Linked DNA regions of Homo sapiens: all the other regions are linked to region 1. Evidence: promoter capture Hi-C in 16 types of primary human blood cells and fetal thymus (Javierre and others, 2016). All regions are on one chromosome and are shown on one strand. The core of a region is centred on a gene start or on the middle of the fragment in contact, and the rest is flanking DNA. Distances in the headings are between cores, read along the strand shown. Region 1 holds the start of IRS1 (insulin receptor substrate 1). Region 2 overlaps LOC105373914 (a long non-coding RNA gene). Region 3 overlaps LOC105373914 (a long non-coding RNA gene). Region 4 overlaps LOC105373914 (a long non-coding RNA gene). Region 5 has its middle 510 kb from the start of NYAP2. Region 6 has its middle 560 kb from the start of NYAP2. Region 7 has its middle 580 kb from the start of NYAP2.

The links. Contacts are between HindIII fragments. The CHiCAGO score rates a contact against its expected background, and 5 or more counts as called.
Region 2: a fragment that was not itself captured here is called in contact with the fragment with the promoter of IRS1 in region 1 in 1 of 17 cell types (M0 macrophages); the score reaches 5.9 in M0 macrophages.
Region 3: a contact is called between a fragment that was not itself captured here and the fragment with the promoter of IRS1 in region 1, in 2 of 17 cell types (M0 macrophages and M1 macrophages). The highest score is 8.8, in M0 macrophages.
Region 4: a fragment that was not itself captured here is called in contact with the fragment with the promoter of IRS1 in region 1 in 8 of 17 cell types (M2 macrophages, M0 macrophages, M1 macrophages and 5 more); the score reaches 12.6 in M2 macrophages.
Region 5: a contact is called between a fragment that was not itself captured here and the fragment with the promoter of IRS1 in region 1, in 3 of 17 cell types (neutrophils, M2 macrophages and M0 macrophages). The highest score is 5.8, in neutrophils.
Region 6: a fragment that was not itself captured here is called in contact with the fragment with the promoter of IRS1 in region 1 in 1 of 17 cell types (M2 macrophages); the score reaches 5.1 in M2 macrophages.
Region 7: a fragment that was not itself captured here is called in contact with the fragment with the promoter of IRS1 in region 1 in 1 of 17 cell types (fetal thymus); the score reaches 5.1 in fetal thymus.

The regions. Positions count from the first base shown.
Region 1 is chr2:226,797,255-226,801,555 of GRCh38, reverse strand. It overlaps IRS1 (insulin receptor substrate 1), which reads left to right and starts at 1,736. Exons shown (of 2, transcript NM_005544.3): 1 at 1,736-4,301. The coding sequence starts at 2,818. It also overlaps a transcript of RHBDD1 not described here. RefSeq lists silencers at 198-407, 1,368-1,437, 1,458-1,877, 2,868-2,917 and an enhancer at 3,648-4,301. The HindIII fragment of the contact is 8,747 bases long and covers 1-4,301 here.
Region 2 is chr2:225,842,226-225,846,526 of GRCh38, reverse strand. The region is part of intron 2 of LOC105373914 (a long non-coding RNA gene); the gene reads left to right. All of the region lies in intron 1 of LOC107985992 (a long non-coding RNA gene), which reads right to left. Among named protein-coding and RNA genes, the nearest start is that of NYAP2, 440 kb to the right of the region's middle. The HindIII fragment of the contact is 2,069 bases long and covers 1,445-3,513 here.
Region 3 is chr2:225,867,013-225,871,313 of GRCh38, reverse strand. The region is part of intron 2 of LOC105373914 (a long non-coding RNA gene); the gene reads left to right. All of the region lies in intron 1 of LOC107985992 (a long non-coding RNA gene), which reads right to left. Among named protein-coding and RNA genes, the nearest start is that of NYAP2, 470 kb to the right of the region's middle. The HindIII fragment of the contact is 1,018 bases long and covers 1,529-2,546 here.
Region 4 is chr2:225,884,596-225,888,896 of GRCh38, reverse strand. LOC105373914 (a long non-coding RNA gene) reads left to right here. Exons shown (of 7, transcript XR_007088110.1): 2 at 3,068-3,240. It overlaps LOC107985992 (a long non-coding RNA gene), which reads right to left. Exons shown (of 3, transcript XR_001739907.2): 3 at 179-2,539. Among named protein-coding and RNA genes, the nearest start is that of NYAP2, 490 kb to the right of the region's middle. The HindIII fragment of the contact is 6,048 bases long and covers 1-4,301 here.
Region 5 is chr2:225,908,592-225,912,892 of GRCh38, reverse strand. No RefSeq gene overlaps it. Among named protein-coding and RNA genes, the nearest start is that of NYAP2, 510 kb to the right of the region's middle. The HindIII fragment of the contact is 1,949 bases long and covers 1,022-2,970 here.
Region 6 is chr2:225,961,470-225,965,770 of GRCh38, reverse strand. No RefSeq gene overlaps it. Among named protein-coding and RNA genes, the nearest start is that of NYAP2, 560 kb to the right of the region's middle. The HindIII fragment of the contact is 2,593 bases long and covers 404-2,996 here.
Region 7 is chr2:225,978,103-225,982,403 of GRCh38, reverse strand. No RefSeq gene overlaps it. Among named protein-coding and RNA genes, the nearest start is that of NYAP2, 580 kb to the right of the region's middle. The HindIII fragment of the contact is 1,099 bases long and covers 1,316-2,414 here.

The sequences.
Region 1 (4,301 bases), core at 487-2,986:
ATGAGGCTGCATGACGACCGGGAACAGGAAGGGGAGAGGAGAAACGAGAGGCTCCCAGGCTTGGGTGGGGAGGAGCCCCTCTGCAGATGCCCAATCCCCCTAATTTACGTATCGCACACCCCTGAATGGCGCCTATGGTTCTTTTTCTCCTTCATCATCATCATCTTCTTTTTCTTTTTTTACTACGCTTTGCAACCTACCTTGGTACCCTCAACCCTTCTACCCCCACCTTCCCTCTGCAGTGCAAGGCTTGAAAAACAGGCCATCCCACCAATCAGCAGGCCTCCCCGGGAAACTCGCTCCGCCCCTCAGCCGCATTGGGCCGAGGCGCGCTCCCCCGCGGCCCGCCGGGTCCCAGCCACTGAGCATGCCCAGCGCCTCGACTGCTGAGTGCCCAGCCAGCATCCTGCAGTGCCTGGGAGCCTGAGGCCGAGGAGGGTCCCGGCGTAGTAAAGGGGCGGCAACCCCAAACGGGCCAGGCATCAAAATGAGACAGCATTAAACCGAGTGACATCTCTGTGGGTCCTTAGTGCCAGGCGAGCAAGCAGGGACAAACTGCTTGTTTATAGGTCGGCTTAAAAAATAAAAAAACTCTGGGGAGCGTTTGTTTGTGGGGAGACTGATACCGCAAGGTGACCCTGAAAGGGGCGCTTCAAGTAGACCCAGGCTGCTGATCTGGTCCACTCATGAAGTAACCATTTTCCTGTACAGTTGAGCTGGCACCATCCTTGTTTTCTCCCTGTTATCCTTGTGGTCAAGGTTAAAAACTTATAGGGTGGTTCAATGGGTGTGGGAGCTGTGTGTGAAACAAACATTTCAGCCAATATTTGCACAGTAGGGTTTTGGCCTTATGAACCCTCTGAAGGTCCCTAACAGCTTTTTAAAGTCACGGATAGACTTCGGAATATGATAAGGGACCTCTCATTTCCCCTCCCCCATGCCCTCAGCCTTAGGTGTGAGTCCCCCCGTCACACGGATGGGCAAGGGGAGCAGGAGAAAAGGTGATATTTACATTTTCTCCCTACTTGATCAGCAACTAATTCCACAGCGCCGGACGTGAGACACTTCCTGGGGATCCCTGTTCTCCTTTTGTAGTGACCATAACTGCCCCCAGTCACTGCCCTTGGGCGTCCCTCTGTTCCTTCCAGGTACCTCACGGCAGCAAATCTGGGGATCCCAAGGTGGAAGGCTGGCCCAGAAGTCCTTTAGAAAAACCTTAAAAAATACAGATCCCCTCACCATGGCCTATCGCCCTGAAGCCGAAATCTAGCTTTTAAATTTCCTGGGGGAAACAGCCTTGACTAGAAACCTCCCTCCCGTGGGTCAGTCTTACCTGATAGGTAAGAGGCAGCCCAGCTCCGGCGCCCCCGCCTCCCCCCGGCCTCCCACTCGGGGCTCTGTAGCCGCAGTGCCCCCCCGTGGCCCCCCACCCTCACTCCTGCGTCTTCCCGAGCTCGCCCCCTCCCGTTTTCCCAGACTCCCCTCGTGCTTTCGGGTAGCCACCCAAACACCCCCGCCTGCGCCCGCCGCGGGGATTCCTGCGGGCCGGGGGCGCCCCGGTTGGCGCGCGTGTAGGGAGGCGCTGCGCCGGAGCTGGCGGCCGCGCAGGGGCGCTGTCCTAGCGCTGCGCCGGGGTCGGCGCGGGCGCCGCTGCAGCACGGCTGGGGGGCGGAGAGGGGCGGGCGCGGGGCGGGCTCGGCCCGGAATGTAGAGACCCGGGCGGGAGCCTCCCGGCGGCGGCTGCCCGGCTGCCGAGCGCGGAGGCTCCGTCACGTGTTTTTCTCCTCCGAGTGAGACGGCGGCGCGGTCGGAGGGGGCCGGCGCGCAGAGCCAGACGCCGCCGCTTGTTTTGGTTGGGGCTCTCGGCAACTCTCCGAGGAGGAGGAGGAGGAGGGAGGAGGGGAGAAGTAACTGCAGCGGCAGCGCCTCCCGAGGAACAGGCGTCTTCCCCGAACCCTTCCCAAACCTCCCCCATCCCCTCTCGCCCTTGTCCCCTCCCCTCCTCCCCAGCCGCCTGGAGCGAGGGGCAGGGATGAGTCTGTCCCTCCGGCCGGTCCCCAGCTGCAGTGGCTGCCCGGTATCGTTTCGCATGGAAAAGCCACTTTCTCCACCCGCCGAGATGGGCCCGGATGGGGGCTGCAGAGGACGCGCCCGCGGGCGGCGGCAGCAGCAGCAGCAGCAGCAGCAGCAACAGCAACAGCCGCAGCGCCGCGGTCTCTGCGACTGAGCTGGTATTTGGGCGGCTGGTGGCGGCTGGGACGGTTGGGGGGTGGGAGGAGGCGAAGGAGGAGGGAGAACCCCGTGCAACGTTGGGACTTGGCAACCCGCCTCCCCCTGCCCAAGGATATTTAATTTGCCTCGGGAATCGCTGCTTCCAGAGGGGAACTCAGGAGGGAAGGCGCGCGCGCGCGCGCGCTCCTGGAGGGGCACCGCAGGGACCCCCGACTGTCGCCTCCCTGTGCCGGACTCCAGCCGGGGCGACGAGAGATGCATCTTCGCTCCTTCCTGGTGGCGGCGGCGGCTGAGAGGAGACTTGGCTCTCGGAGGATCGGGGCTGCCCTCACCCCGGACGCACTGCCTCCCCGCCGGGCGTGAAGCGCCCGAAAACTCCGGTCGGGCTCTCTCCTGGGCTCAGCAGCTGCGTCCTCCTTCAGCTGCCCCTCCCCGGCGCGGGGGGCGGCGTGGATTTCAGAGTCGGGGTTTCTGCTGCCTCCAGCCCTGTTTGCATGTGCCGGGCCGCGGCGAGGAGCCTCCGCCCCCCACCCGGTTGTTTTTCGGAGCCTCCCTCTGCTCAGCGTTGGTGGTGGCGGTGGCAGCATGGCGAGCCCTCCGGAGAGCGATGGCTTCTCGGACGTGCGCAAGGTGGGCTACCTGCGCAAACCCAAGAGCATGCACAAACGCTTCTTCGTACTGCGCGCGGCCAGCGAGGCTGGGGGCCCGGCGCGCCTCGAGTACTACGAGAACGAGAAGAAGTGGCGGCACAAGTCGAGCGCCCCCAAACGCTCGATCCCCCTTGAGAGCTGCTTCAACATCAACAAGCGGGCTGACTCCAAGAACAAGCACCTGGTGGCTCTCTACACCCGGGACGAGCACTTTGCCATCGCGGCGGACAGCGAGGCCGAGCAAGACAGCTGGTACCAGGCTCTCCTACAGCTGCACAACCGTGCTAAGGGCCACCACGACGGAGCTGCGGCCCTCGGGGCGGGAGGTGGTGGGGGCAGCTGCAGCGGCAGCTCCGGCCTTGGTGAGGCTGGGGAGGACTTGAGCTACGGTGACGTGCCCCCAGGACCCGCATTCAAAGAGGTCTGGCAAGTGATCCTGAAGCCCAAGGGCCTGGGTCAGACAAAGAACCTGATTGGTATCTACCGCCTTTGCCTGACCAGCAAGACCATCAGCTTCGTGAAGCTGAACTCGGAGGCAGCGGCCGTGGTGCTGCAGCTGATGAACATCAGGCGCTGTGGCCACTCGGAAAACTTCTTCTTCATCGAGGTGGGCCGTTCTGCCGTGACGGGGCCCGGGGAGTTCTGGATGCAGGTGGATGACTCTGTGGTGGCCCAGAACATGCACGAGACCATCCTGGAGGCCATGCGGGCCATGAGTGATGAGTTCCGCCCTCGCAGCAAGAGCCAGTCCTCGTCCAACTGCTCTAACCCCATCAGCGTCCCCCTGCGCCGGCACCATCTCAACAATCCCCCGCCCAGCCAGGTGGGGCTGACCCGCCGATCACGCACTGAGAGCATCACCGCCACCTCCCCGGCCAGCATGGTGGGCGGGAAGCCAGGCTCCTTCCGTGTCCGCGCCTCCAGTGACGGCGAAGGCACCATGTCCCGCCCAGCCTCGGTGGACGGCAGCCCTGTGAGTCCCAGCACCAACAGAACCCACGCCCACCGGCATCGGGGCAGCGCCCGGCTGCACCCCCCGCTCAACCACAGCCGCTCCATCCCCATGCCGGCTTCCCGCTGCTCGCCTTCGGCCACCAGCCCGGTCAGTCTGTCGTCCAGTAGCACCAGTGGCCATGGCTCCACCTCGGATTGTCTCTTCCCACGGCGATCTAGTGCTTCGGTGTCTGGTTCCCCCAGCGATGGCGGTTTCATCTCCTCGGATGAGTATGGCTCCAGTCCCTGCGATTTCCGGAGTTCCTTCCGCAGTGTCACTCCGGATTCCCTGGGCCACACCCCACCAGCCCGCGGTGAGGAGGAGCTAAGCAACTATATCTGCATGGGTGGCAAGGGGCCCTCCACCCTGACCGCCCCCAACGGTCACTACATTTTGTCTCGGGGTGGCAATGGCCACCGCTGCAC
Region 2 (4,301 bases), core at 1,230-3,729, 960 kb after region 1:
GGGAATATTTATGTTTGAATAAGTCTTCCTTATGAAGTTTAAAGCTTGAAAGCTCAGACAGAACAAGAAATTGGATCTTGCCCAAGATACAGGTAGCATAAATTAATAGCTCTTTTTTTTAAGGTCTTCAATTTTGGGAAAAATCAGCTCCACTCTTCCTTCCCCCGCCCGCCACATCCTTGTGTTGTTTAGGTCAAGATTTAAACTGTCAGGGCAGAGAGTTTGCTGAGCCAACCTGTTCACAGCCCCACTGTTTAGTGGTGCTCTTGGGCACCTTTACTGGTAGTTCGGGAAAGGTATCATTTGCACCTCTGAATATATGTCAGACTTCTTTTAACTACATCAAGTTACTTCACATTGCCTTCTGATTTTCTTCTACTAGCTCCATAGTTCAGTCAGTTTAGACTTACTGAATAGAGTCCATTATTCAACCAAGATTGTTTTGTGTCGTTAGTCTTTTGCATACTTAGATTTTTCACGTATTTAGTTACTGAAAACCTACAAGGATGTAACCTACTGCCAAATAAGATTGAAGTTTATTTGAAAAAAATTTTTAGTCAAGTCATTGAACATCTGTTATATGCAAACTCAGTATGTTATCATGAAGTGCACTTTTACATTCAGAGTACAGCATATTAATGACATACACATATAATAAAGTAAGCTATTTACAAATAGACAATATGTAATAGATGTGCTTTGTAGCCCGTCATATACTAGAGTTGAAATTTCTTCATGCCTTACTTTCTTTAGCAGTAAAGTAGAATATACACTGTACCTTGGTACAGACTGTCTAGCTACTCACCAAATATACCCATTCCTTTTGGGTGCAGAGCTAGGCAACACTTTTCCAGCCTCCTGTGCAATAAGATAAGGCTATGTGACTGAGTTCTATGATGTATGCCACTTCCAAGCCTGGCCAATAAAATTATCCCATTTGATTCTCTACTATTTTTTCCTTCATCCATTTGGTGGATTGTATTGCCTACAAAGATCATTGGAATCCACGTAATTTGTATATGACTGTGCCTCCTTCAGCCCGAGTCACCTGAAAGACTGTATAGAAAATACACCTTGTTCTGCTCCCAAGTACATAACTGTGCTTTACATGAGTGAGAAAAAAATATCTTTGTGTAAGGTACTCAGATGATGGGATTTCCCTGTTATAGCAGTCAGCTTCCTTTTAATTAATGCAAATGCACACTACATAGGGTTGTTGAAGGCTTATTTGAGATAGTACTCACAAAGCGCTTCATAGAGTTCCCAACACATACTAAGACCTGCAATAAATGTTACTGCTATGGCTAGGTAATCCATATTTAGCTGAACAGGAAGAAGACAAACCATATCCAATTATTTCCCTAAAGATTACTAGGAGTTACGTATCTGAATACACTTTAGCTAATTTATTTTAAATTTGCTATTCTAGGTCAATGCTGAAGCTTACAACTACCAAGAGTTAAAAAGTCAATGTATGAAACTGAACCAGAATTACCTTTAAAAAAACACAAAAGTCTAAGCATCATAGTTCATTCCAAAAATTTCTTCCAAAAGCTCTTTGGGGCCTATAATTTTTTTTTTATTTATTTGTATCCAAATAAAACTTCATATAGAGATTGATAACTATGAAGGCAAATTGGTATGAAAATAAATCATAAATAAGTCATCCTGGACTTTTATTTTTTAAACTCATGTCACGGGGCTGGGTGCCATGGCGCATGCCTGTAATCCCAGCACTTTGGGAAGTTGAGGTGGGAGGATCACTTGAGCTCAGGAGTTCGAGACCAGCCTAGGAAACATGGTGAAAGCTCATCTCTACAAAAAATACAAAAATTAGCTGGGTGTGGTGGTGTGCACCTGTAGTCCCACCTACTTGGGAGGCTGAGGTGGGAGGATGGCTTGAACCCGGGAAGTAGAGGTTGCAGTGAGCTGAGTTGATGCCACTGTACTCCAGCCTGGGAGACAGAGCCAGACCCTGCCTCAAAAAAATAAAATTAAAAAAAATTAAAATTAAAAACTCATTTCATGAGTACTGAATTTAAAAAGACAAAACAAAAATGAAACATCTTTCAAATCATCAACTTCAATACTTTCATGAGCTTACAGCTTCCTAAGAAAATCTACAAGTCAAAATTTTTTATTAAGTGATCATCAACAATTCCAGGCTATTTGCCTAGATTTTGAGAAAATATTTTTACTGCCTTTATTCATCATCATCTAATGACAGAGAGTTGGAGAGAAAAGTACCTGGTCAGATGTCAGCTTAAGTTACATAATTCATTTTCCATACGTGAACAAGAAATTAAATTCCAAATAGGCATGCACTATTCCATAGTGAACAGATCCAAATTCCTAATGATACTTCCACGTCTGAGAAATACAAGTATAATTTTTCTAAAAGGAAGATGGTACTTGATGTAATTCTATTTGTTAAGATATAGAATTTGGCATAAAATCATCATCTCAATTGTGCCTCACGCACGTGGATTTGGCTGCTTGATAGCCCTAAGACCTTGTAGGTGGCTTTAAGTGTTTAATTAGAGCAATGTGTGGCCATAACTCTGATCTTGGAACTACTCATATTACAAAAATATATAAATAATGTAATCAAAATTATGTTTTTCATAGTTTTCTATGCTTACACAATTCCTTGTACAAATATAATTAGGATGACCCTCACATTTTATTCTGTCTGAGCCTGTAAACATTTTGAGAACAGGCTTGTGTTTTACTGGTCCATCTGTGACCAGCAAGTGTTCAAAACTTGGAACGAAATCTTTGTCTAACTCAATGTTTATTTATTGAATGAGAGAAAGACATTTATCTGAATAATCTGTTTCATAGAAACTCCTTTGATTGCAGAGATTGACTGTGAAGCTCTTTATGAAAAATGATATTTATTTTTGTTTGTTGGAAATAGTTAAATACTACCTGGGACCAAAGTAGAATTGGAAATAAAAGGCTTTGCTTGGCAATGTTCTGTTTGATTCTTTACACTGTCTTTTTGCCTAAAATTAAAAGAACTGTTCAGAAGATAAAAAGATACTAACCTGATCCTATTAATTTATAATAAGTTGCTGATACTATAAATCTAGTGACTTTGATACAAGCAATAGATCCTCCAAAACCTAACATGTACCTTAATCCAGATTATATATTAAAAAGACTTTTTTCTATCTTTTAGTAAATTTGCAGTCCTTTAAACAGGATAAAGTTATAACTTTAATGTACTTTATGAGGTTCACCTAGAACATTATTTTAATGTTTCTAAGGACACTGTGTTCTTTGCAGGGTCACAGTGACATGAACAAAGCAGCATGAATGACTAATAGAGAAATCTGTGGTGCCTCTGCACAGATTTCTCAATGTGAACTGCTGGATTTAACATCGGAATTCAAAACAAAATCTGTTTCTGATTAGATACAATTAAAAAGTTTGTTTTGTGTCAGGTACAAACCATGACCCCAATACCCACCCCTGCTCTGCTTTCTTGGAATTAGTGAAATTCAAGCTTTTGTGTTTATAAAGATTACAGTAAAAAATTAAGTCACTTGTGTCACAATTTTCTGGATAATTAAACAAGCAAACAAAGCTAGGAAATGAAGTAAAAATCATTGGAATGCTCTTTTAACCATTTGATTATATTTGTTCTAAAGAAAATGGTATTTTAAAAGTTTGCCTTCATTCTGAATACTAATTTGCAGTGGCGTGGTGAGTGACTATTATGTGTATGCTTTTGTATTGGACTAAAAGAGTCAGTTCTTAACTTGCAATTAAAGCAAATGGTAAGAGCTTCCTGATGGAGTAAATTCAGCATTTTAGCGGTGGTTGTGGATTTATCAGCTAGCTCCCAAGCCTGAGCTTTTAGCATGTTCTTCCCATAGGATTTCAGATCTTCGTATCATCAGACAGCATGGAATTCTGAAACCAGAATCCCAAATTTTCAGCTTGAGAGTATTAAACTTTGTTATTTTCTGTTGTTTTTGAAATTATTAAAAGTGATGTTACATTTCCACCCTGATATGTATGTAACTGTACAGATGTGGTCAAATCATACATATGCTTTTAATGCAGTACTTTAAAATATGTTTTTGCTTATATTCTGTCTTTTCTTCTCCTTCCTGTCCATCCCCCTCTCATCTGGTCTCCCATAGCCCATGTTAATAACATAGAAAGTAGCCTTTTATCTTTCTCATGCTCAGTAATCATTTCAATGATTATTTGATTTCAATTGATTCAATTGATATGAAATAATGAATATATATGTGTTATAAATATTTGTGATTTCTATTTTCCTATAA
Region 3 (4,301 bases), core at 788-3,287, 930 kb after region 1:
AGCCTCCTGAGTAGCTGGGATTACAGTCATGTGCCACCACGCCCAGCTAATTTTGTATTTTTTTGTAGAGATGGGGTTTCTCCATGTTGGTCAGCCTGGTCTCGAACTCCCGACCTCAGGTGATCTGCCTGCCAAAGCCTCCCAAAGTGCTGGGATTACAGGCATGAGCCACCACACCCGGCCCACAAAGAGCCTATTTCATATCTCACACAATTTATTGAATACTGTACTAAAAGCATATCGCTTTTACACCATTGTAAGTTAAAAAAAATCATAAGTGGATCCATCATGATTCAGGGACTGTCTGTATTGCATTCAATTGCATGTAAATATACAATTACCCCAAAATAAAATTTTAATAAATTATTAAATCTTAGAAACCAACATTAAAGAATATTGTTGGAATCAGACTTGACAACAAAAACTAGCAGAGGCATTTTAATGTTCCAAGGATATGACTTTTAATTTGTTGGCCAATATGTCTTTTGTTTAAATTAAATTAAAAATAACATTTACCAGAGCAACCAATAGAGAAGGGTTTTGTTCCTTTCCTTGGTCATGTATGACAGTGATGGAATATTTTTGTTTGCAACTAATTGTTCCCAGTAGACATTTTCTTTCTTTTTGACTATATTATACATATATTAATTCTATATGCACATCTAATATGCTTACTGAAACATAAAGGAGCTCTTTTTTTACTTCTTTTTAAATTCTTTTTGAAGTATCCATAGAAACTTAAAGTATAATAGAAAATAAAATAAATAAAATAAAATAAAGTATCCATAGAAAAGGAAAAATGAGCATAGGCAATAAATGTGTGGTTTGTGAGTTCACATCTTTAAAAATGAAGCATGTTATAAATTTAATATGTAAAATACTTTTTAACATGATGTCAATCAACCCATTTTAAATTCCAAAACCACAGAATATTCTTTATCTGATACTAAAACAAGTACCCTTTAGGTAGGTATATAGCTTGAATGTTGCAGTGGTTAATTTTATGTGTTAATTTGACTGGGACGAAGGGTGCCCAGCTATTTGGTCAAACAATATTCTGGGTTTGTTTGTAAGGGTATTGTGGATAAGACTAACATTTGAATTGGTAGAGTGTGAAACGAAAATTTCTCTCCCTGTGTGTGTGGGCCCCATTTAATTAACTGAAGAACTAGATAGAACAAAAAGATTGGCCCTTCTATGAGTAAGAGGAAATTTCCTTCTGTTTGACTGCTACAAACTGGGGCATTTTTTCATGCCTTCAGACTCAAATGGAAATAACCACTCTTTTTGGGTCTCAAGCCTGATGGCATTTGGACTAGAGCTACACCATAGACTCTCCTGGGTCTCCAGCTTCCTGACAACAGATCTTGGGACTTCTCAGTCTCCATAACTAAGTGACCCAATTCCTTATGATAAACTATGTATCTGTATATCCTATTTGTTCTATTTCTTTGGAGAACCCTGACTGATACAAATATGTACTATATGTAGGTAATATTAAATTCTTAAAGGTAAAAACATATAAGCTTTTCTGTATATATGTGTACATTTATTTCATATACTATGTCCTTCTTGATGTTCTGCTCACTATACCAACAATACATAAAATAATGAGCATGAAACAAGTATGGCAGAAATTTAATCCCCATCCTAAAGCAATTTTCATTTTAAAAGAACAGATATTTTGCATGAAGTAGGAAGCAAATGTAGACTATATATATAATTTATATACATATATCACATATATCATGTATATACATATATATCACACATATGAATACATATATACTATAAGTTTTTAGATATAAATTTACATGTATACATAAAATGCTTAAAAATGTGATACAAATCAAAGATATTGCCAGATTAAAATAATATTTGATAGGAAAGTCTTCCAGATGAACAAATAATAAAACTAACTAAAGTGGTTAACTAGAAAACTACAATAAAACTAGAAAACAAATTACTTTCACAAATTATTTCATCAGTTGTCTGAAATGATGGAAGACCTGGAGTTGTGACTGAGGGAGCTTGAGAAATGGAAGTCAGAGAGCATTCCAGCCCGATTAACTTGTAAGATAGAAATGTGGTTTCAGGAACCAGCAGATAGTGGAGGTAGCCAAGGAAGGTGTGGAGGGAGGGCTGATAATACGAAGGGGAAGAAACAAGATGGTATTTAAAATGCCACAGAATACATCACTAAAACTCTATACTCAGCCTCTAGAATGGCTTCACCACAGAGTAAAACTACAGAAGACTGTTTGAGCAGTTTTTGCTGGAATATTCTGAATATTAACGACCTAAGTGAGTGCCAGGTGCCTATCAGCTGAGCATCACATCTGGTTCTGATTATTAACATGTCCTTATCTGTTACCATTCTTGGATAGTGAGTACTACCGGGGGCTTCATGACTTCTTAGTCTTTGAGTTGGGATTTTAAAATACCTGGGTGTTGGCGGGTGGTTCTCTCACTCTACATGTAGCACACTGAGATGCAGAGAGTTTATTTATTAGCAAATCTGCTTACTGAGAGCCTAGAGAGAAGCTTTTCAGAAAGTCCAGAAAAAAGGAATGCAAAATTGTAAAGGCACGGAATGTTCTGATGTGCATCCACAAAGTATACTTTCCTAATTTATTGAAGGCAAATTAAACTGCCTGCCTCCAGTGCTCCTGAGGCTGTGGTAGAGATTGTGACTTCAAGGTACAGTGATCACAGCTCCATGGTTACTAGGATGCAGGATCCAGCAAGCCAGAGAAGAAAGCAGCTACCTTTCTGCTGGAAGAAAAACCAAAACCTCCGGGCAATGATGATTGTTAATACTGGAACTGGATTTTAGATTAAATGGTGTAATCTAATGGAGGTCTTTATAAGCAGAAGCAGGTTTAATATGTACAGGAGAGTACATATTAAATAAGGTAGACTATAAATTAAATGACTCTTGTAAGTTTTTACCATGGCCAATTTAGTTTCAATTATTGATAATATAAAAAGCCCAAATTAATGTATATGATAGAAATAGACCACTGTTGCTCACTCCTTGATCTTGTTTGTGGCTCTCAGTTACCTACAATTTATAGTCACATTTCATCAGCATAGACAGATATCCTAACCTGTTTTTCCAACCTTCTAAACTCTCCCCCAAACTTACTTTCTTCTCCAACACCACATATCCACTCTATAATAGCATTCTTAGTTGCTTAATAATTAGTTCTTTATATTGTATGTTCATGTTGTTTCTTGGTAGCATTAGAGATTGAATTTGTATTTCATGATGCAGCCTTAGCCTTTATTCTCTCTTCTCTTGATACTTCTAGTCCCAAATTCCAGCTTACGTCCTCAGGGAAGGTCCTAATTCCCCACTGTCCGTGATTCTATGTAATTCTTATGTCACTTATTTTCATGATGTCTTTGAGATATCTGCATACCTCTCTTAACAGTGAACTGCACAAAGGCAGGTAAAGACTATATTTTGCTCATCTTCCAATTATTGTTTAATAACCATGATGCATATATAAAAGCATTAGCATGATGTATATTTTCAAAGAGTTGCTTAATTGCATATGCATATTCAATATGCTTATTGGCACATTCTTTCAGAACACCTCCCGGATAACCCACATCATTTGGCAAGGTAAATCATAAATTCTACTGTGGAAGTGTCCGTGACTTTTTCTCATTCTTTCTAATCTGAGTGTCTAAGGCTTCCATAATTTTTACCTAGATTTGAAAAAATTGTCTTCTAACTAGTTTACATGTCTTCAGAGATTCCTGTTTTTAATACATCTTTTACAAAGTTATCATAGTTATTATTTTCAGGTGATTAAGATGTATCCCTGTCTTGTTCAAACAAACAAACAAACACAAATAAACTTTGATGTGTTTTCAGTAGATAATCAGCAAAGGAGAGATTGATGACTGGGGACGCAATGAACTAAAAAGTTAAATCAGACTTACTGGCAACCAGTGAAAGTAAGGATAAGCCTTGCTGGCAATATTCCCATCAGAACATAAATGATGCTCAAACCAGGACACAGACAAAGCCATGGTACTATCACAACATGACTACACATTCCTCACTTCTGACCAACGTGAGTAATTGCTGGTTTTTTTTTCCATTACAACACGAGCCCCATTTTGATCTTCCCACTGCAGCGACACATTTATTAAGATACCCAGTCACAAACTAGCCTCTGTTACTTCACAGCGCCCTATTCAGAACTGACTTTGTCTTCCCTAATTCCTTCTTAAAGTCACTGGACATAAATCCAAGACTTATAAAGGGTCCCTCCTTAATCCCACTC
Region 4 (4,301 bases), core at 790-3,289, 910 kb after region 1:
ACTGTAGATGTTCATTGACAGAGTGGCTTTAGACATCATCTAGTGATCAAATGTGATATTTCACAAATAAATAATATATTATTTGTGATATAATTGTGATATAGTCTAAGGTGATTATGGGATCTGTCCAAGGTCACATAACTATAGGGGGCATACATCAAATAAGACATAGAGAAAATTGACAGTTGATTATTTTTATTGCAAGAAGAGTTTGAAAATTTTTAATTAATTTTTTATTGACATAATAGATGTACATAATTCTGGGGTATATGGGGTAATATCATACTTTCATATAATTTATAAAGATCAAATCAGTGTATATTAGGGTTCTCCAAAGGGACAGAACTAATAGGATATATGCATATATGAAGGGGAGCTTATTATGAAGAATTGACTCAAAAAATCCCAAGGTGAAGTCCCACAATAGGCCATCTGCAAGCTGAGGAGGAAAGAAGCCAGTAATGGCTCAGTCCGAGTCCAAAAGCCTCAGAAATAGGGAATCAAACAGTGCAGCTTCAAGGCCCAAGAGCCCCCCGGCAAATCACTGGTGTAAGTCCAAGAGTCCAAAGGCCAAAGAACCTGGAGTCTGATGTCCAAGGGCAGGAATAAGGGATGGAAGCATCCAGCATGGGAGAAAGATGAAAGCCAGAAGACTCAGCAAGCCCTCTTCTCCCACCTTCTGCCAGCTTTGTTCTAGCTGCACTGGCAGCTGATTGGGTGGTGCCCACCCACATTGAGGGTGAGTCTTCCTCTCCCAGTCCAGTAACTCAAATGTTAATCTCCTGTGGCAACACCCTCACAGACATAGTCAGACCCAATACGGCTATTTAGGCATCCTTCAATCCAATCAAGTTGACACCTAATATTAACTGCCATACAGTGTGATTGGGTATACATCACCTTAAATATTTGTCTTTTCTTTATGCTAAAAACATTCAAATTATTCTTTTCTTGCTATTTTGAAATAAACAATAGAATCATGCTACTCATCTATCAAATGTTAGGTCTTATTTTTTCTATTTAACTGTATATTAGCACCCATTAATCAACTACTCTTCATTTTTCCTCCCTTCTACCCTTCCCAGCCTCTGGTGACCACCAATCTACTTGCTATCTTCATGAGATCCACTTTTTTTTAAGTTCCCACATATGAATAAGAACATGAAATATTTGTTTTTCTGTGCTTGTTTTATTTCACTTAATGTAATGACCTCCAGTTCCATCCATGTTGTTGCAAGTGACTGGATTTCATTTTTTTATGGCTGAACAATATTCCACTGTGTACATATACCACATTTTGTCTATCCAGTCATCCACCGATGGGCACTTAGGTTGATTCCATATGTTGGCTGTTGTCCCTAGTGCTGCAATAAACATGGGAGTGCAGGTATGTCCTCTATGTATTTTCTTTCTTTTGGATACATACCCAATAGTGAAATTGCTGAATCATATGGAAGTTGGATTTTTAGTTTTTAAAGAACCTCCATACAGTTTTCTATAGTGACTGCACTAATTTACATTCCTACCAACAGTGTACAAGTATCCCCCTGTCTTCATATCCTCACCAGCACCCCTTATTTCCTGCCTTTTTGATAAAAGCCATTTTAACTGGGGCGAGATGATATCTCATTTTGACTTGCATTTCTCTGATGATTAGTGATGTTGAACACTTTTCATTGACTTCTCAGTCATTTGCATGTCCTTTTTGAAAAATATCTATTCAGATATTTTGCCAATTAAAAAGATCAGATTATTTGCTTTTTTTGGTATTGAATTGTTTGAGTTCCTTATATATTTTGCTTATTAATTCTGTCAGACTGATAGTTTGCAAAGATGTTCTCCCATTCTGTGGGTTGTCTCTTCACTTTGTTTTGTTGATTGTCTCTTCACATGTTGTTGTCTCTTTAAGGTCAGCCACTGGTTTCTTTCTTTGTCCATTTAAGGAGGTCCCTGTTTGCTGTAGTTTCTTGTGGATGTATGTCTATGTCTTTGCATTAAAGGATGAGTTATTTATTCCAGTCTTCTTTGTCTGGCTTGTTTTGGTTTTTATTGGGTATGTTTACTTACATATTCTTTGTAATTTACCTGTTGCTTTTCTTTCTTTTCCTACAAGGTTGATGCCTCCTTTTAGGCCCTAGATGCTGCTTTAAGCTCACGTTTGCCTAGGAGCTAGTAACATATCAAACTGTGCCCATCTTGAATGGCAGAGGTCCCAAAGGTAATATCCTGGTAGTGTGGGAAGGCCAGCTAGGCATTCCTGCCGAAGGGCCTGTAGAACAACCTTCCTGCATCATTCTGCTGTTACATGGACACTCTGATCTCACTTCTCCTTTGGCCAAGTTACAGAGCAAAGTTTTTGGGACTGGGTGTGATAGTGCTGCCTCCCCACTTTGTCTCGGAATGTCCCCAGAGATATTTCTGTCTTCAGGCACTAGCAATGATTCCTGTGGGTTGAGGCAGGGAAAAGTTTCTGCTAGGGAGTCCAAGATGCTGGGGAAGCTGGTTGTCCACCTTGATCCCACTTTTTCCAGTGTAGAACCTGTGAATTAGGAGGAAATTGTCACTGTACTTTTTCCTGGGCAGAAAAGGGATAGGGGACTTGTGGATACGGGAGTCTGATTCTGTTCTGCTCAGAGTTTTACATCTCTCTGTGACACCAGGAACTCTCTCATTCTCATGTTTGAGTTCTGGGATATTGCTCATGATAATTGCCATGTGGTGTATTTGTTTTTGGTTTTCGGTGGGGGCAGTAAAACTGACTTGTTTCTGTGACGCCATTTTGGAACTGGAAGTGAAAGATGGTTAATTTTATATACAAAAATAGTCTATATTAAATTTAAATAACCCTTGATTTGCCTAGCTTTTCTGGAGTAAAATGAGATCAGAAAAGCAGTAGAGGAAAAGATTCTCCTTGGTTTACAAATACCAAAAGATAAATAAATTTGGTGATCCTTTTCAGGAGGTTTATCAGTCAGGCTAAGTTATATTTTGATAACAAATAATCCTAAAATTTTAGGGCAACACATCAAGAAAGGTCCCTCTCTCTCATGTCCTATGTGTTTCATAGGTTGCCTGTGTCTGTACCCCGTTTCATCTTCACTTCTGGGAACCAGGCTGATGGAGAAGTCTTCTAGCAGAAGTACTATGGGTCATGATGGCAGAAAGAAGAGCAAACTTGGTGGACCATGTGCTGGCCCTTGATGGGTCTACTCAGATGGGTCACGTATCTCTGCTCACAAGGTGAGTCCCTGGTTTCACCTGAGTATAGTTTTATTGCCAGGAGAGGCATCAAGTATGGGAGAATAATATACTACCTACCACATGCATGGAGTATATATGTTTTTTATATAAAGACTCTAAGGGGTGCAATATTTTAGTGAAAGGAACACGCTGGCTGTTTGTCTGGATTAGTTCTTAACAGTTATTTACTCCCTCAGTTTGAATCTACTTTCTGCTGGTAATAGCTCACTCATTTTTTGCTTGTGGAGGTCCTTCCTTCTCTCTTAGCTCAGGAGATCTAAGTCCCACCTCCAACTTTAAGAATGAAATATCCACTTTATATGCCATCTAAGCCAATCGCTACTTTATATTCTCCTGGCCATGAGGATTGGGTCAGAAGTGGGGACTTTATCTACAGCAAGTCTAGTTAAAGCAATTTTCATGCATTTTGTGAAGCCACGGGTAGATGGTAACATAAAAGAGAACTTTTTCCTGTGGGATCTGGACCTTGAAGCATGTGAAGCAGAAGCTGCTGCAGTCACCATGCTCATACTCAGAGCTCAAGGGTGAAACCCAACATAGGGAAGAGGGGACTATTGACCTGAGATGTGTAGAGAATCAAAACCCTTGCAAAATGTCTGGGCTCCTGAACGCAGCTATTCCTGAATACAGCATTGCTCTTAGGTTTTATAGTTATTGGGGGGTTTCGTTGTTGTTGTTGTAACTAATTTATTTGATTTGGGCTTTCAACGCTTGCAACTTGAAAAACATAATGTATGTTTTGGGAAACTTATTCTGAGTCTATGCCTTCTTCTCTGTTTAAAGAAATAAGAAGAGGATAATTGAATTAGATGACATCCAGATTTGGCATTTTATAATTTCATAATTTAAGACACCTTATTTCATGATTAAGATGTTAATAGAAGAACATTAATGTTTATATCCAATTGAAATTGGATTTCTAGCACATCTCTAATAATGTTGGTGACAAAAGTTGCTCTTTTCCATGGTAATGCAGCTTTATTCTATGACATGGGTACTTTACAATTACTTCTCAAGGGTCAAGAAATTATCGCAGAATA
Region 5 (4,301 bases), core at 747-3,246, 890 kb after region 1:
AAAGACTTTTATACATAATTTGGCTGAACACAGCTTCATAAAAAAACTCAAAATATTATTTTCTGTAAAGAAATAGAGAAACTATTCACTACTGTGACTAAAAATATGTCTCTTTCTCTTAAAGAATTATTACTTTTGATAAAATCTGTGTATATTTTGGCTATAATTTATTCTCAGTACTAGAATAATTTCAATTGACTTCATTGCTTAACTTTATTACTTTTGTTTAAAATATCATTTTTTATAAGAAATTTCTTTCAACTCTTTAATCAATATATTTAAATTTGATAAAGATAGTACACACCATACAGATATAAGCCAAATTTGTGTATTTTTTTTAACTATCTCAATCATCCTTCCAAATTGGAAGGAGTACATCCAATGATGTACTCGAACTTTATTAAATATTGTGTTTCCAGTAAAAAAAAAAAGCATTGTGAATTTTTGATTGAATATACTGCCTTACTCATAATATTGCTGAAAGTAGAAATTTTTGCTCTCAATCAGGCTTTGATGAGAAACAAATTCCCTGATTGTAATTTTATATTTCTGATTTTGTGAAGAATTTTCAACAGCCTAGCTTCCAGCTCTATACATTTTAACTCATTTGCCTCTTCCCGCCTGCTTTTGGGACTGGGTTCCATGATTCCCATTCATAACACAATGCAGGCCTGGCTTTGTGTTCCCCCAGCAGGTGAGTGGGAATGGACAGCAGTGGGACTACTCCCAGAAACTGTCCCCAGCTAGCATACAGAAGTGACAGGGACCACATAAAAACATCCCACTAAATAGAAGTTAAAACATCCCTAACTCAGCTTCCCCTTAGCTGAATCTCCAAAATGCCATGACCAAACAAAAAGTAGAGGGAATTTGGAGTGGTAAGCAACAGTTTTCTTCAGTAAATATTAACAAAATATATGACTTTTGCAAAAATTGTATAAAAATAAGAACATGTGAACACACAGAGAGGGCTCATCCCAGATTCCTGGAAAATGTTCTGCAAGTGAGCAATTTTGAAGCTTATTCTTTATTTATTTCACAATAAACCTGACTGCAGTGGGAGGAATTCTGAGATAGTTTCTCCAAGACTCTCAGCCACTGGTGTACAACCCTTCTCCCAGTTAATTAGTATACTATTCTAGGTAACTGCTATGAAGCGATTTTGCAGATATCATTTAGGTCTTAATTCAGTGAACCTTGAGATAAGGGAGGTTATCCAGGTAAGCCTAAGCTAATTGCACCGGCCCTTTAAAATCCACATATTTTCTCTGACCAGGCACAGAAATGAAAGTCAGAGAGACATGCACTAGCTCACCTGGAAGAAGACAAACATAGGTTGTAAACTACCTGCGGGGCGTCACATGGTAAGGAACTAACAGCAACCTCTATTTGCTGCGAGTTGACTTCGGCCAACAACTAGAAGAAAAATGGGGATCTCCATCTTGTAGCTTCAGTGAAATCAATTCTGTTGACAATCAATGCGCTTGAAGTAGAAACTTGAGCTCAAATGAGACCATGGCCCCAAATCATATTTAAATTTCATCCCAGTGAAATTCTAAGAAGAAAATCTAGCCACACTACGCCCAAATTTCAGACCCACAGAAACTATGAGTAATAAATCTGTGCTATTTTAGGCTGCCAAGTTTGTGGTAATTTTTAAAATACCTTTCTTAGCAAGAATTAGGCATAGGAAGTAGGTTATAAGCTGGAGATATACAAACTCATACATGCAAAACCAGGGTGCGAGGGAAAGCGCAAAACGAGATGGAGAGGACTTTATTTACCACAAGTAAATTTGGTTTAGGGATAACTGGTGGGTGCATGGAGACTGGACCCACCTCCCCATGGATGTGAAAGCACCTCAGAATCACGAGTCAGGAGTGCTGGTCTTCAGAAGGCAGAGCATTGTGGGTACCCGGATTCTGTAAAGGCTTCTTTGAGCACAGCCAACACGGAAGTTTGAGGGGTACAAAAATAATGAACAAGTCAAATAGTGTTTTTTTCTGTGTGATTTGCACACAGACTCTCCAGGTTTCCTCCACAAAGTCTTTGCACAATCTATCAATTTAAGGGGATTTTGTTGCAAGTGAATACTCCGTGGTGAGAGTGAAGAGACATAAAATTGGTTTCAAGTTTGGGATGGGGCCAGTGCAGAGGAGCGTGAGAACCCCTTGTACCCAGGAATAATTAACATCCTTGCTCTTGGACAAGGATGTTCTAGGCATCAGCTAACTTCAATCATGACCCCAAATTGAGAGTACAAAAGAATTCTGAGTAAAATATTCATAACAAACACATGTACCTGTAGATGTTTGAAAAAGGACATGCTGTGAGATCAGAAGTGCCATCAGGGAAACAAGGTGGCATTTGCTTTGATGAATTCTCTAAGGTTCAGGGTTGGAACTCTGCTTTCATCTCAGAAGACTGATTTATGCAGCAGATGAAGAGGGTCTGTATCTCTGGGGAGAAGCAGGGGAGGGAACTACTCGGTAATCAAGCACCTGGAAATATATTTACACAACAATGTAAATTGACAATAAAAATATAATGTCAAGGGTACTGGTATATTTCTTTTTTTTTTTTTTTTTTTAGAAGGAGTCTCACACTGTCACCCAGACTGGAGTGCAGTGGTGCAATCTTAGCTCACTGCAACCTCCCTTTCCTGGGTTCAAGCGATTCTCCTGCCTCAGCCTCCCTAGTTGCTGAGATTACAGGCACTTGCCACCACGCCTGGCTAATTTTTTGTATTTTCAGTAGAGATGGGGTTTCACTATGTTGGTCAGGCTGGTCTAGACTCCTAACCTCGTGATCCACCCACCTAGCCCTCCCAAAGTGCTGAGATTACAGGCGTGAGCCACCACGCCTGGCCGGTCACTGGTATATTTCTATTGGAATGCCCAGCACCATTCTCTTCCCTTAAGTGTATTCACCCAAAAAGTTGAATATAAAAGGAAGTGGCCTTGATAAGCTTGGAATTAGAGCAAATGAAGTCATGGTAATGCTCCCAATGTTTAATAGCATCAGGATCTAACAGCCACATACTGCCGTCTTCATATCAGGGGTGCACCTGCCACTCTACCTGGAGTTGCATATTTCTATCCTAGAAAGTCCTTCTGCTACATTTTCTGGGTAAGTAGATATGCATTAGCACTGGGACTGCTTCTCAAATGTGATACTTTCCTCATTGTAATTGTGCTTCTAGTGAAGGATTTATCATATTATATTATTAAATGATATGCTCACTTAAATTATAAACTTTTTGAGGCAGGGGCCTACACTTAACAGTATTCATAACCCAGCAGCTAGCATAGTCTCTGACACATTCATAGATCCCCAGTAAATGATTGTGAATGAATAACCTAATAATGAATGACAGATGAACGAATGAAGTCTATGGGTGCTATTTTATAGACAGTCATCTTTTTTTTTCACTCATCTTTTCATTCTTCGTAGGGCTTGATATATTTCATTTTTTTCCTCTAATCAAATACTGAGATATTTGGCATCCATTCTATAAGGATTCTGTAGATGTGCTCAGTAACTTGTAATTTTAAAAGTAACTAAACATCTTTGTTGTAACATCTTTAAAGTGCTCTTTAAGTGTACGGTGTTAGCAGAGTTGCTTTCAACGTAGATCCACTCCAACCTAGCTTATCTTGGTTGTACACATACTGTTCTATATGCATATTTACAAAGGCACAGTTCAATTAGAAATTTATTTTTTAAATGCATAAAAGAAATACCAGTACTAATAGGGAATGTAAACCTTAAAGTAGCTCAAATTTTGAAAGTTAAAAAGTTGCTTTATCCTGGTTGTATCTTTGGAGGGCATTTGATACAACTTAAAGATAAGCAAAACAAAAAAACCTTACAAAAATAATTCATTGCTCTTTTGTCAGTTACTACTATTTTAATGAAAAAATTAGGTTCTAACATTTTTTATATTGTAATAACTCAAAAAGATCTCAGGAAGGAGTTAAAGAATGACCATGAGATACACCTTAGTTACTCCTCAAGTCTGTAAAAAAATTCCAGGATTTGCCTTTACCTATGGTCAAAAGAAAGAATAAATTGTGTGTCATTATTTTCCTTTAAAATGAGGTTTATCCAAGACACTGCCATTGATGAGAAGGGTCACTCCCGCCATGCTCTTCACAGATATTTGTGGATTACCTATTGGGCAACTATAAAATGAATCAGATATTATTACCACTCTTAAGGGACATAATCTAGAAAAAAGAGATATGTTTATGTAAATAAATGAAGAGTATTTCAACCCAGTTGAAGTCTATATCCAACTA
Region 6 (4,301 bases), core at 451-2,950, 840 kb after region 1:
AGTATTAGATTCTTCTGACAACTGGTCTTGGGAGACGTTCTCAGCTTGACATCATTACATGACACTATGGAAGAAAATAAAGACATACAAGTACCACTGAACCACGATTTTCAATTTATTTTATCACTGGAATTTGTATGTGTAATTTTTTAGCCTGCTTTTTGAATGATTTCCCATGGGGAACAAAAGAATTGAGATCCATATATAATAAGCCTATTTAAGTGAGGTATTTGAAATAAGCTAATTTCTAACAGTTTAATCTAATACTGGCTTTAGATTTTCTGGAAGCAGAGGCAAAGATAAAAAATTTGGATTTTGTGATTTGCTTTTCCTTATTTTTTTCCAAGTCACATGTTTATTTTATGGTTTTATATGGGACAAAGTTAAACAGAATAAGGAAGCTTTTCACTTTCTGGTTTCTCAAGAAAATAATGTTGCTCAAGTGTATGATTCTAATATCAACTATCAGCCAAGGCAAAGGGTACAGCAGTGAATCATTTTAAAAGAGTATTTTTACCATCTTTATTTTCTTCAATCAGACATTTATTTCATGCTTTTGATGGGCCAGGCATATGATAGTTTTCAGAGATACAAAGTGAATTAATATATGATCTATGTTATTTGATAAATATTTATAAAGAGCCTAAACATTCAGTAAAATGTTAAAACAAAGTCCACAAAGTCTAGAGTCTGGTGAAGGTCCTTATGGGTTCTTTAATAAATCTGAAGGCTGGATTTGTCTTCATTTAACTATTTCAAGCAGTTAGAAAACATCTTCATCTTAACCATTCTCAGAGATCTTTAGTTATTTGTGTAGATCCAAGTTTCTGTTACCATATTCCTTTTATCTTAAAACTTTCTTTAGCATTTCTTTTAATGCAAGTCGGCTAGTAATAATACTCTCTTTTTTTGGTCTTTAAAAGTCTTTATTTCACCTCTGATTTTGAAAGATATTTTTGGATATACTCACACTATTTATCTTGAAATGTATTGTCTGATAGTATTAGCCGTTCCAGCCTTATGTTTTCTGTTTGCATGAAATACCACTTTCTTTTCGCTTTACTTTAGCCTGTATTTTACCTATATTTTTAGATTTGTATTTTTTATTTATACACCATATTTGTACATATCCATGAGGTACATGTGAAATTTTGTTATATGCATAGAATGTGTAATGATCAAATTAGGGTATTTACGGTATTCATCAGCTCGAGTATTAATTTACCTTTCTTTGTATTGGGAACATTTTAGGTCTTCTAGCTATTTTGAAATATAAAATACATTGTTGTCAACTATGGTCACACTACTCTATTTACTACTACATAATAGTAGTAATAGAAATACACAATACATTCTTGTTAACTATATCCACACTACTCTATCAAATACTCTGCTATTGAATACTAAAATTTATTTGTTCTATCTAACCACATGTTTGCACCTATTAACCACCCTCTCTTTACCCTCTCCCTAACACACCCTTCCCAGCCTCTGGTATCTATCATTCTACTCTCTGCTTCCATTATATCAATATTTATTAGCTCCCACATATGAGTGAGAACATGAATATTTATCTTTCTGTGCCTGGTTTACTTCACTTAATGTAATGACCTCCAGTTCCATCCATGTTGCTGCAAATGACATAATTTTTTTTTTAGTGGCCAAATAGTATGTGTGTACATTAAATATATATATTATAAATTTACATATAAATTATATATATAATTTTCTTTAAAAATTTATTCATTGATGAACACTTAGGGTGATTCCATATCTTTGCTAATGTGACTAGTGCTGTGTGTTTACATCATTGGGGTTCAGGTATCCTTTTGATATATCAATTTCCTTTCTCTTGGATAAATACCCTGTAGTGGGATTACTAGATCATATGGTAGTTCTATTTTTAGCTTTTTGAAAAATATCCATACTGTTTTCCACAGAGGCTGTACTAATTTACATTCCCACAAACAGCATATAAGAGTACCATTTTCTCCATATCCTCACCAGCATCTGTTGTCTTTCGTCTTTTTAAAAATAGCCATTCTAACTGTGCTAAGATCATATCTCATTGTGGTTTCGATTTTCATTTTCCTGATGATTAGTGATGCTGAACAGTTTTTCATATACCTTTTGGCTCTTTGTATGTTTTCTTTTACGAAATTTCTATTCATGTCCTTTGTCCATATTTTAATGGGATTATTTGTTGGTGTTTTTGTTACTGTCAGGTTGAGTTCCTTGTATATTCTGGATATTTAGTCCTTTGTTGGATGAACAGTTTGGAAATATTTTTTCCCATTCAACAGGTTGTCTTTTCACTCTGTTGATTGTTTCTTTTTCAGTGCAGAAGATTTTGAGTTTAATATAGTCTGATTTGTCAATTGCTGATTTTGATTGCTGTGATTTTGAAGTTTTAGCAGTAAAATCTTCACCCAGACCAATGTCCTGAAGTGTTTCTCCTATGTTTTCTTCTAGTAGTTTTATAGTTTCAGGTCTTATATTGAAGTCTTTAATCCACCTTGAGTTAATTTTTGTATATGCTGACAGATAGAGGTCCAGCTTTATTCTTCAAGTTTTTTCCTCTCTGTGCCTCTAATTGGAAAATGCATATATACACATTCAAATTTACTAACTTTTAATGTCTTCTTCATTCTGCTCTTTAGTCCATCTTTTATATATGTATATATACATATATTTATATTTAAGTTGTACATATTGTATTTTTCATTTTAGAGTTTCTTTTTCTTACCTTATTATACTTGTTCGTACCACAAGTACAATATTAAACAGAATTATGATAGCACCACACTTGCTTTATTGTGGACCTTATAGGAAAATCTTCCAAAATTTTATCAGTACATGATGTTTGTATTAGATAAAAGAAGTTTTTTTTTCTAGCTAATTTTCTAAGGCTCTTTATATGAACAGGGGATATTATCTATCAAATGATTTTTCTGAACTTATTGAGAAATCATGTTTTTGTTTTTTATAATAAAGCTTTTTAATTTGAGATAATTGTAGGTTCCGTGGCAGTTGTAAGAAATAACCAAGAGATTCCATTTCTTTTTTACCCAGTTTCCTCTAATAATAAAACTTGCAAAACTATAGTACAATATCACAACCAGTATATTGGTATTAATACAGTCAAGATACAGGACATTTCTATTACCACAACAATCATCCCTGTATAGCCACAATGTCTTTCATTCCACCCCCACACTCTGTAACCTCTGGCAATTTCTACTCTTTCTGCTGCTTTTACAATGTTGGCAAATCAAGAATGCTGGATAAATGGAATCTTACGGTATATAATCTTTGGGAATTGGCTTTATTTTGATTTTTTTTTGGATTTGGGAATGTGATTTTTCCACGATCCTCTGGAGATTCATGTATCTTGTTATATTTACTAATGGTTTGTTATTTTATGTTCCTGAGTAGTAGCTCAGGATATGGATGTACCATAGTTTATTCACTCATTGAAGGAAATTTGGATTGTTTCCTATCTGGACTTATTATAAATAAAGGTGCTATAAACATTTGTGTACATGTTTTTGTATAAAATAAGTTTTTATTTTTCAGGGATAAATGATGGTGCGTAATTAATGAGTTTTAGATTTGTCAAATGGTTTTTCTGCACCAACTGATATGAACATGTGGTTTATTTCTTTAGCCTGTTAATATGATGTCATATATTAATTATTCTTTGACTATTGAACAAATCTTGCATGCTTGGAATAAACCATCTATCTATTGAGATGTTATTATTTAAATAATTTATTCTGTTATTGTAGTGGATTATATTATAGTCTTGAATAAACTCAATGTGGTTATAATAGGATGTCCCTTTTCTATACTGTTGGGATTATTTTGTTAATATTGTTAATATTTAATTTGGGAATATTACATCTATATTTTTGAGTAAAATTGTCCTATAATTTTCCTTCTTAAAAATTATTTTGATGTCAGATATGTTATAAGGGTCATGCTGACCTTATACAATGGGCTGGAAAGTATTCCTCCTATTTCTATTCTCTGGAAGAATTTGCATGTGTTTGTCATTATTTCTTTCATACGTGTTTGGCAGAATTCACTGGTGAATTCTTTTTAGTCTTGGTATTTTGTGTTTTTCTAGGAATTTGTCATTATTTTCTAGATTTTAATTTTTATTGCTTTGAAGTTAATCAGGATAGCTTCATATTATATTGTTTAATGTCTATGATATTAGCAATATAACTCTTCAGTACTAGCTATTTGAGATATCTCTCTGAAATTTTCTCTATCTCTCCGTATCTCTGTCTCACCTC
Region 7 (4,301 bases), core at 616-3,115, 820 kb after region 1:
AGTCATGCAGCTGGAGGTTACAAGGTTCTAACCCTCCCCAAATTGCTCCTGTGGAATAACATCACTATTGTAAAACCTAAAATCAGTGCTTGCGATATTATGAAGACCCTGCACTTGATGGATCAGCTGGCACCATGCAGATAGATAAACTGGCTCATCTGATATTGTGGCCCCCACCCAGGAACTGACTCAGGGCAAGAGGACAGCTTTGTCTCCCTATAACTTCACCTCTAACCCAACCAATCAGCACTCCTGACTCACCGGCCCCTATCCACCAAATTAAACTGAGAAACTCTGATCCTCAAATTCTTGGGGAGACTGATTTGAGTAATAATAAAACTCTGGTATCCCGCACAGCCAGCTCTGCGTGGATTACTCTTTCTCTATTGCAATTCCCCTGTTTTGATAAATTGGCTCTGTCTAGGCAGTGGGCAAGGTGAACCCCTGGGGTTGTTACAATACCAAGCCTGGTCTTTTAATTGGAGAATTTAATCAATTTACATTTAACGTAATTACCGATATGGTATGATTTACACCTGACATTTTGCTATTTGTTTTCTACATCTTAGGTCTGTTTTGTTCTGCAATCTCTTCATTGTTGCCTTCTTTTGTGTTAGACATTTTCTAGTGCACAATTTTAATTTTCTGGTAGTTTTTTTATGATATGTTTTTGAGTTATTAGCAGTCAGTATAGAGATTGCCATTAATACCAACTTAAATTCAATAGTATACAAATACTTTGGTTCTTTTAGACTCCATCTCCTTACATTTTGCTATTATCACAGGTTACATCTTTACACATTATGTGCCAATTAACTTAGATTTTTAATTATTGAATTATGCAGTTGTCATTTAATTCAGATAGGAGCAAAATAGGACATACAAACAAAAATATATTTATAATGTCTTTGAGTTTTACACATATACAAATGTAAATTATTACATTTACTGGTACTCTTGACTTCATTATCTGAATTGGTGTTGTTGTCTAATGTACTTTCATTTGACCCTCAAGGTCAGTGAGGAATAAGAGCTTAGGACCTCTCCTGTCTTTTGTGAGCATGAACACAGCTGCATACAGCCTGTGCATGCACAATGCCTTCTAGATTTCCAGGGATATATTGGAGCTTTTCAAAGCCCTATGGGTATCTCATTCTGCAGCTTTTTCTTTTAAGCTTTTTGACTAGTTTATTGTTTGCCCCAACTTTTATCCATTGCTTCGGGCAGCTGTGATGCTAAAACATTAGACACACACACACTTCCCTGAGGCATTTAGCACTGGAGGAGTTCAAGTGAGTTTGCATAAAGATAAGCTTTTGGAGTGGGGTTTTCCAGGGAACCACAAGACAGGTCAAATAATGGCAATCATTTGGGAATGACGTCTGTTCTCCCTCAAGTGCCAGGAATATAGGCTGTGATTTTTTTTTTTTTTGAAGACTGCCACTGAGGCCGGGCGCGGTGGCTCACGCCTGTAATCCCAGCACTTTGGGAGGCCGAGACGGGCGGATCACGAGGTCAGGAGATCGAGACCATCCTGGCTAACACGGTGAAACCATGTCTCTACTAAAAATACAAAAAGTTAGCCGGGCGTGTTGGCAGGCGCCTGTAGTCCCAGCTACTCAGGAGGCTGAGGCAGGAGAATGGTGTGAACCCGGGAGGCGGAGCTTGCAGTGAGCTAAGATCGTGCCATCGCACTCCAGCCTGGGCAACAGAGCGAGACTCGGTCTAAAAAAAAAAAAAAAAACTACCACTGAAATAAAAACCAGAAGATGAAACCGACTACCACTGAAACAAAAACCAGAAGATGAAACTAGGGTAAGTTAAAACATGACAGAGCCCACTGTTCTTACTGATATTCAACAGTTTTTCTTGACTAAACTCTCCTCTGGTTGCTGCAAGCCTTTTGTTAATTCTCCAAGTTCTAAAAAAAAAAAATCAATTTTGGCAATTTTTGCTAGTTTCTTTTATTGCTTTTATGGAAGGGTGAGCTTTCAGAGATTCTTACTTCTCTGTTTTCACTAACACACTAACAGCATCCTGTGTTTAATGGAACAAGATCACATTATATTGTATTGACTATAATCATTACTTTAGTAATTTAAGGAGTCATCAGTGTGAAAAACGGTTATTTACATTATGTGTATAAATCTACCTGTCCTAAATTATTGTATTTGCTCAGAATTTAAGTGTACCTCAGTTTGTGGTAGCTCAAGGTCAGTATTTACATGCAATCCATATTTTGACCTAAATATTGAACATTGTCTAATACTGCTGACTAGTTTATGAACTATGATATAGATTAAGGTCATCTACCTGGAAATAGTTTATAAATATCAAAATGAAATTACTGTAGAGAGTTGAGCTACAGGTAATTTGGACCCCAAAACTAATGTCATGGCAATGTTTGAAAAGCTTTAGTATTATAATCACAGTTAAAAATGCTTTCCCCTCCCCACTCTTTAAATCAAACTCACACTATCAACAAAACACAGTAGAATAGAAACTACTGCTAATACTTTATCTGGGAACAAAATAAGTTCAGAAATAACTGTGGAATGATGAGGAAGAGAACATAAGCCTAAAATTACATGCAACTATTTTACTTATCTCTACCTAATCTTTTAATTTTGTTGCTTTACTAGTAGATTGCATCCTTCAACAGCTCTTAATTTTTCTGTGGAGCAGAGAACAGCTAGCCATAAAACTAATTGCTTACCCTGAGTGACTATTAGTTGAACTGCTAATGGGAAGTTATGCTTGGAAATGTGGACACAAATGGGGGATTAATAAGTCTGAAAGCAGAGGCTATTATCATATCATAATCTCCCTTTTCATTCTGTTGTCCTAGAATTCTGTAAGACTTCATATTCTTTAGATGATGTATCATGTACATTTCTTCTGTATCAAAATATCAACTGGAAAGACAATGCATCCTTTATTTTAGGATAAAGGTAAACAATGGCACTGTTCAAGAAGGAAGCAGAGATCTGCAGTTTTCAAATAGCAGTTCTTTCAATGATCAAAACATGTCTCTCGCATGAATTCGGAGTCACTCTGAAGTTCACAACTAAACTAACTAAACTGTCTGTTACACTGTGAAGCTTTCACTTCTTGCCCTGCTAAAGGCCAGATTGATATATCCTCTCCCCGTCTTGCCATAGAACTTTGTTAATCCCCTATCACAGCATTGTTCACATTTTATTATGGTGGCATGCTTGCCTGTCTCTTCAGTTACATTTTAAATTTATGAAAAATAAGAATCGACTCTTATTTATTTTTATATCTAACTCCAAGGGAATTTTCACAAATGCCTCGAAAGAAAGGAGCAGGATTTGGTAAAATAGTAATAGAGGTACTTATGTAAGACTATATGGAGAAAAAAGGTCCTTCTACAGAGAAGACATTTAAGCAGATTCCTAACGAATAAGATAAAGCTAAACAGATAAAGCCAAAGTGAGGAAGCAGGGCCTGGGAAGTATTTTTAGGTTGAGGAAAGAGATCATGGAGTAGAGGTAGGTTGAAAAGTAGATAAATGGGTTGTATGAAAATGCAAGGAGGCTGATGTGAATGTTGCTTTGTTTGTTCACAAAGGGAACAAGAGAAAGTGTGGCATGAGACAAGTTCAGCAGCCTAATCATGCAAGTCTTTGGAACAATGATAAAAAATTTTATTCCAAATATTTATTCAAAGTGCAATAAATTGCAATTGAAGATATCAAGCAAGGGAGTGCAAAAATCTAATTTTCACTTTAAAGAGACCATTTAGGCTGTTAAGTGAGAAAGTATTAGTAATGGTGATATGGTTTTGCTGTGTCCCCACCCAAATCTCATCTTGAACTGTAGCTCCCATAATCCCCATGTTTTATGGGAGGGACCTGGTGAGAGGTAATTGAATTATGGGGGCAGGTTTTCCCGTGCTGTTCTCATAATAGTGAATAAGTCTCACAAGATATGATGGTTTTGTAAAGGGCAATTCCCCTGCATGCACTCTCTTGCCTGCTGCCATATAAGACATGCCTTTGTCCCTCCTTTGTCTTCCACCATGACTGTGAGGCCTCCCCAGCCATGTGTGACTGTGAGCCCACTAAACCTCTTTTTCTTTATAATATAAATTACTCGGTCTTGGGTATTTCTTCTTAGCAGTATGAAAATTTACCAATAAAAAGGAACATATTCCCTCAAAGTAGGAGAGTAGTTAGCAGGCTCAGGCAGTACCCTCAATGTTGGATGGATGAGTATTCAGACTAAGAAGGGCTTGGAGTGAGGTGGATGGATATGAGATATGCCCTGTAGATACAGTAA